2 separate regions of the Homo sapiens genome follow, and region 1 is linked to region 2. The links are contacts of gene promoters, found by promoter capture Hi-C in blood cells and fetal thymus (Javierre and others, 2016). All regions are on one chromosome and are shown on one strand. The core of a region is centred on a gene start or on the middle of the fragment in contact, and the rest is flanking DNA. Distances in the headings are between cores, read along the strand shown. Region 1 has its middle 4.1 kb from the start of SGO2. Region 2 holds the start of CFLAR-AS1 (CFLAR antisense RNA 1).

Region 1 (2,830 bases), core at 12-2,511, 640 kb before region 2:
ATCAGAATGTACATTTATCTCAGTGAGCAGAGGGATGACTTTGAATAGAGTGGGAGGAAAGTTTTGTCCTGAGCAGTTTCCACCTTGACTTTTCCCTTTAGCTTAGTAATTTTGAGGCCCCAAGATTTTCCTTTCACAAATACAAACCCCCCCTCCAACCTCATTCCCCTGTAGCTATTGTTACTTCTTTCTTGATCCTCAAAGAACTGTCTATTCTCATCTCTGCATCCTCTCTGCTGCAAAAGGAATGACTCCTTAACTGTCAAACCCCAGGACTGTTCTCACTCAGGTCTTCCTGCTGCTTAAGACCAGGTTGGCAGTCCCTTCCCAACCATCATTCCTCCCTCAGCCCTCCCACGTGTCTCCTTCTACCTCTCACTGCCTCTCTTGCTGCCTTTTCATCTTTCCTCCATTCATTGATGTTCACCGTGATTCTACCTTCTACTCTTCTTGTGCCTCTACACACTCTTCCTCCACAACTTAATCAACTCTTGTGATTTCTAATTACTATTTGCTGCTGACTCCCAAATCTGAGTATCCCTTTTCAGCTCCATATTTCTTATTTCTGTGAGCCTACTGGACATTTCTGACTAGATCTCCTAAATAGCAGAGTTATTTTCCACAGCTGCTATTCCTTTGCATTTTCAATGAAGAGTGGAAAAGGGAAGGCTATATGATGAGGAAGGGTATGGGGGTCTCTGGGACCCCATCCAGCAGCCAGGGAATGTCCATATGGAAATAACTCTGGAGACGTGGGCTTCAGGACCATGCCAGCAGCGTGGTACATGTAACTGTGAGTCCACTGGTAAAGCCAGTGAGTACAGCAGCTATCTTTTCAGGCCCCTTCCTCAAGCCTCCACTTTGTATGGTTTGGATTTTATGAGTGGAGATATTGAGTAAAGGAGTACTTTAAGCTTTTCGGACTTCCTGCAGAGGCACAGGGTGGAGGCTGAGAAGTAGACTACACCCCAGTCTCTCAGTGTCATCCAACATCTGGACTGGAGTAGTGTAGAGAAAAAAGTCGCCATGAGAACCACGGCTAGAGGTTATCTAGCTGGACAAGTGGTAGACCAAGTTCCCTGATTATTTTATCCCTTTCCAGACAAGCCTCCCTTCTACACACACATACACCTTGGTCAGACATAAGGAAGCTTGGTGCTCCTGTTACATATTCCCTGCCCTTGCCTAAACCACAGAAATGTTCTTGAATCACCTCAAGGCTCAAAGACCCCTTCCATCTATCCCCAACATCGATCCTGGATTTTCTAGAGTTAATCGGATCTTTATCACTCCCTTTTCTTAAACTTCTTGAGAGTTTAAGCACTGCTCCCTCCCCTACACCCAATGCTTTCCTTCATTGTCCACACAAAGTAAAGCTTCTTAGCGTGCACCCAAGATCCTTCTGTTACTTGACTTTGTCTAACCTCTCAGCCTTTGCTCCCCCTATCTGACCACATGCGTCCTAGGCCCCAGCAGCTCTGAACTGCTTCCTGGGACAGGCTATGTGCTGTCAGCCTAATGAATCCCACCCAACTTGGCCTTCGAGGTTCCACCGCTAAGTGACTTCCCCTGAAGATTTGTCTTCCCTCTTCTTTTAAGAGCTGCTCTTTGTTTCCTAAATATTCTTTCTTTCTTTCTTTCTTTCTTTCTTTCTTTCTTTCTTTCTTTCTTTCTCTTTCTTTCTTTCTTTCCTTCCTTCCTTCCTTCTTTCTATCTTTCTTTCCTTCTTTCTTGAGACAAGAGTCTTGCTAAGTTACCCAGGCTGGTCTTCAACTCCTAGGCTCAAGCGATCCTCCTGCCCTGGCCTCCCAAAATGCTGGGATTACAGGTGTGAGTCACCGCAGCTGTCCTGTTTCCTAAATGCTTTGATGGCATCTTTTGCAAACCTCAACATCTACATATCACAATATACAGGAATGGACTGTTTGCTTGTCTACTGTCTCCCAAAAGGAAAGAACATTTGCCTCATCCATCTTTACCCTCAGCAAAATGCCAGGTGCAAAGGGGCTCCTGATAAACGTATATTGAAGAAAAAGAGGAGGCTGACAAGCAGGAAACATGAGGAAATTAGCATGATGGATACCATGCCTCAAAACCAAAGTGACAAATGACAAAGTAATTCTCTCACTATCTTGAGAGGCTCAGGCCAGGCTGCCTGGGTTCAAATACCAGCTGCACCACTTAACTAAACCTTGTAGAAGTTACTTAAATTTTTGGTGCTTTCTTGGTTCCACCCAGAAAGGTGGGGACAATTTCCTCAACTTTAAAAAGGAAATGATGGTACCTACCACATAGGATCATTTTGAGAACTAAAAAGGCATTTAAAGGGCTTGACACAGTGTCTAGGACAAGATAAGCCCTTAATAAATATTATCTGCTGCTGTTATAATGATTAGCTATCCATCACCCAGCACAGCTTATTTAACTGGTTTCTATTAAATAAAATAAAAGTAATTATTGTAGTAAAGTTGCATAAAATACTGAAATGAACCTTTGTCATTCTTTTGGCCGCCTAGCTCAAAATGCACTTCCTGAGTTTGGGTAATTCCTCACCTTATGAGTCTGTCTAGGTTACCTCTCACTAAGAAGCCACCATCATCATAATCATCATCATCATCAACACAACAACAAAAGCCAGACACAGGCTGTTCAGGACTCCCTTGCAGCAGGACTTGTAGCATATGATTCAGGTTTGACGAGTCAGACACACCCAAACCAGGTCTAGCAACAGGAGCTAGTAATGCCAAGCAGCAGTGATGGGAAAACTGCAGCACAACTATGCCCACTTTCCCATATGCAGTGGTGGTCCCAGTGGTCCCAGCAGCAGTGG
Region 2 (2,962 bases), core at 193-2,692:
TCAGAACTCCCTTTTTCACTAAGAATGTTTTGCCCATCTTATGTTTTACCCATGTGCTCTATAGCAGTTAACACTGGGCTTATTAAAGGTACTCAATATGTGATTGTAAATTAACTGGTGAAGCATTCCCTCATTCTTGTTTATTTTATACATTTATTTAATGAAGCCCTTTTCATAGAAATTGTCAAGATAAATGTATCCTCATTTAGATCAAAACAAATTCTAAATTAATGAAGTCATGACATTTTACTGTATTTTGGTTTTTTTGGTTTATCTGTGAAGTCCTCAAACCTGTGAGTAGTGCTGACCCTAGCCTTGAATGAACAGCCCTGTACTAACTGCAAGGCCAGAAGAACCCCTGCCCTTCCCCTCCCCACCCCCCCACATCATTTCCAGAAGTTCTAAAGAACAGTTGAAATTTACGGAGATCAGACTGGGTTGAGTGTGGGATTTCCAGGGTGGGTTCTAGAAGGAGAAGTGGGTCTTCTGTAGTTTGTTGAAATTTTATTTTCCAAACCCAGCCCCCAAGTTTTTCTTCCTCTATTTATGTGCAAGGACAAAACAGTTACTGTCCTACCTACATAGGATATGGACTCTGTCTGCTCTGAGCCCATTTTAGTTTAGAATATAGAGACCTCCCTCCAGGTCCTAAGAGAGAGATTCCATGAGAGATGTGCAACACCATAAGGTTGGTGATTTGTACTTTGAAATGGCTGCCTTTATTTCCTTTAAAGTCAATATCTTATATTTGAATAAACACAGTTTGCAAAGCATCTTTACAGAAATCTCATTGGATCCTCACGGTCACCTTTTTTCTGAGACAGAGTCTCACTCTTTCACCCAGGCTGGAGTGCAGTGGAGCGATCTTGGCTCCTCCACTTCCTGGGCTCGAGTGATCCTCCTTCCTTAGCCTCCCAAGTAGCTGGGACCACAGATGCGTGCCACCATGCCCAGCCAATTTTTGTATTTTTGGTAGAGATGGGGTTTCGCCATGTTGCCCAGGCTGGTCTCAAACTCTGCAGCTCAAGCAATCCACCCGCCTTGGCCTCCCAAAGTGCTGGGATTACAGGTATGAGCCACTGTACCCTGCCCTCACAGTCACCTTTTGAAGAACCTCCTGCTCAAGAGATCCTCCTGCCTCAGCCTCCTGAGTAGCTGTGATGACTACAGGCTTGTACTACCATGCCTGGCTAGTTTTTTTATTTTTTGTAGAGACGGGGTTCCCTGTGATGCCCAGGGTGGTCTCAAACTCCTGAGCTCAAGCCATCCTCCCACCTCAGCCTCCCAAAGTGCTGGGATTGTAGGTGTGAGCCACTGCACCTGGCCAAGCATTAGTTTTAATCTTGTTTTATAGATGAATAAACTGGGGCTGACTCAAACTGACTCAAAGTCACACTGTCATTACCTTTTTGATCCTGTACGTTAGACTGGGCTGTATGCATGTTCTTGCTGGCGCAATAAAGTTGCAAGTGCCAGCTAACAGCCCTTCCCACTCCACCTCACCACCTCATAGAGGAAAATTGTGACGTTAATGGGAAATGTCAGCGGTAATGTCTTCAGGCTGGGCCTGTGGAGTGACTCCCTTGCCACAGGATATTTAAGCAATGCTGTGTCTTGTCTGAGGCTCAGACCTGCTATTCTTATTGGCACTTGGGACCTGCATGGTTTTTGGCTTCACCTCCAGCTTTAGCCATTTTTCTTCTGTTCTTTTAGGTAAGGATTTTCTGCCCCAGACCTCAGATTCCCATTTCCTTCCTAGCTTCTCTGCTGTTATAGCTCAGTCTCTTCCAAGACCATGCAAGATTCAGACCCTAGTAGGAGGAGATGGAGGAACTAGGACTTAAACCCACATCTTGTGATTCCAAGGCTGGTTCCTCTTTTGCCCTGCACCACACAGCTGTCTGCTCACAGTCATGTGACAGGGGCTTCCCCAGCCAGAACCTCCAGGGAGCACAAATAAAGGAAAGAGCTGGAAGGCACAGTACAGCATTTGTTCTGTCCAAGCCTTACATATCAGCATGGGCAGGGAGAATGTGGTGAAGTTTTCTTTCAAGGACTTTGTTTGATAAGGAAGGACATTTATCAGTGAAGAGAGGTTTTGAGGGAAGTGAACCAATCTTGAGATAAGTACACAAAAGAGCTTTGAGTCTGGTGTTTCCCTGTTTGCTTCTGCCCCCTGGAGGAGCAAATACTCCATGATTAGAGACGTGTGAGTCCTTTGGAATAGAATAGCAGTGATGGAACTGGAGTCCTAGTCCAGGTTCTCTCCTTGTTCAGCCTGGATTCAGCACTGGGTATCGAAACAAGCCTGCACCCTCAGAGGAGATGGCTAGGGGACAGTGCGTCCAGGCCTCTTCTACCACACAGAGTTTTCTTTTTTTTATAAAGGGTATACACATTTAAAATTTAATGATACTCCCAAATTGCTCTTCAAAAAGGCTGTGCAAAATTACAGTCCTGATAACAGCTACCCAGAGATCCTGTAACGGCATTTGCCCTCATCATTATTATTATTATTATTATTATTATTATTATTATTTGAATTTGAGACGGAGTTCTGCTCTGTTGCCCAGGCTGGAGTGCAGTGGCGCAATCTTGGCTCACTGCAACCTCTGCCTCCCGGGTTCAAGCAATTCTCCTGTCTCAGCCTCCCTAGTAGCTGGGATTACAGGTGAGCACCACCACGCCTGGCTAATTTTTGTATTTTTAGTAGAGACGGGGTTTCACCATATTGGCCAGACTGGTCTCGAACTCCTGACCTCAGGTGATCTGCCCGTCTCGGCCTCCCAAAGTGCTAGGATTACAGATGTGAGCCACTGGGGCTGGTTGCCCTCACTATTTAATGGGTTATTTGCAACCTGTGAATCATGTCTCCTATTTCCTTGTTAATGATGCTTATTGATTATAGACTTAGGAATATCAGCACCTCCTTTGTAGCTCTTCATTCTTACATGATATAATA

The links. Contacts are between HindIII fragments. The CHiCAGO score rates a contact against its expected background, and 5 or more counts as called.
Region 1: a contact is called between a fragment that was not itself captured here and the fragment with the promoter of CFLAR-AS1 in region 2, in 1 of 17 cell types (neutrophils). The highest score is 5.4, in neutrophils.

What each region holds. Positions count from the first base shown.
Region 1 is chr2:200,520,696-200,523,525 of GRCh38, forward strand. No RefSeq gene overlaps it. Among named protein-coding and RNA genes, the nearest start is that of SGO2, 4.1 kb to the right of the region's middle. The HindIII fragment of the contact is 225 bases long and covers 1,150-1,374 here.
Region 2 is chr2:201,156,350-201,159,311 of GRCh38, forward strand. CFLAR-AS1 (CFLAR antisense RNA 1) reads right to left here and starts at 1,443. Exons shown (of 7, transcript NR_040030.1): 1 at 1,406-1,443. The region is part of intron 8 of CFLAR (CASP8 and FADD like apoptosis regulator); the gene reads left to right. RefSeq lists enhancers at 1,742-1,821, 1,842-2,171. The HindIII fragment of the contact is 4,248 bases long and covers 1-2,962 here.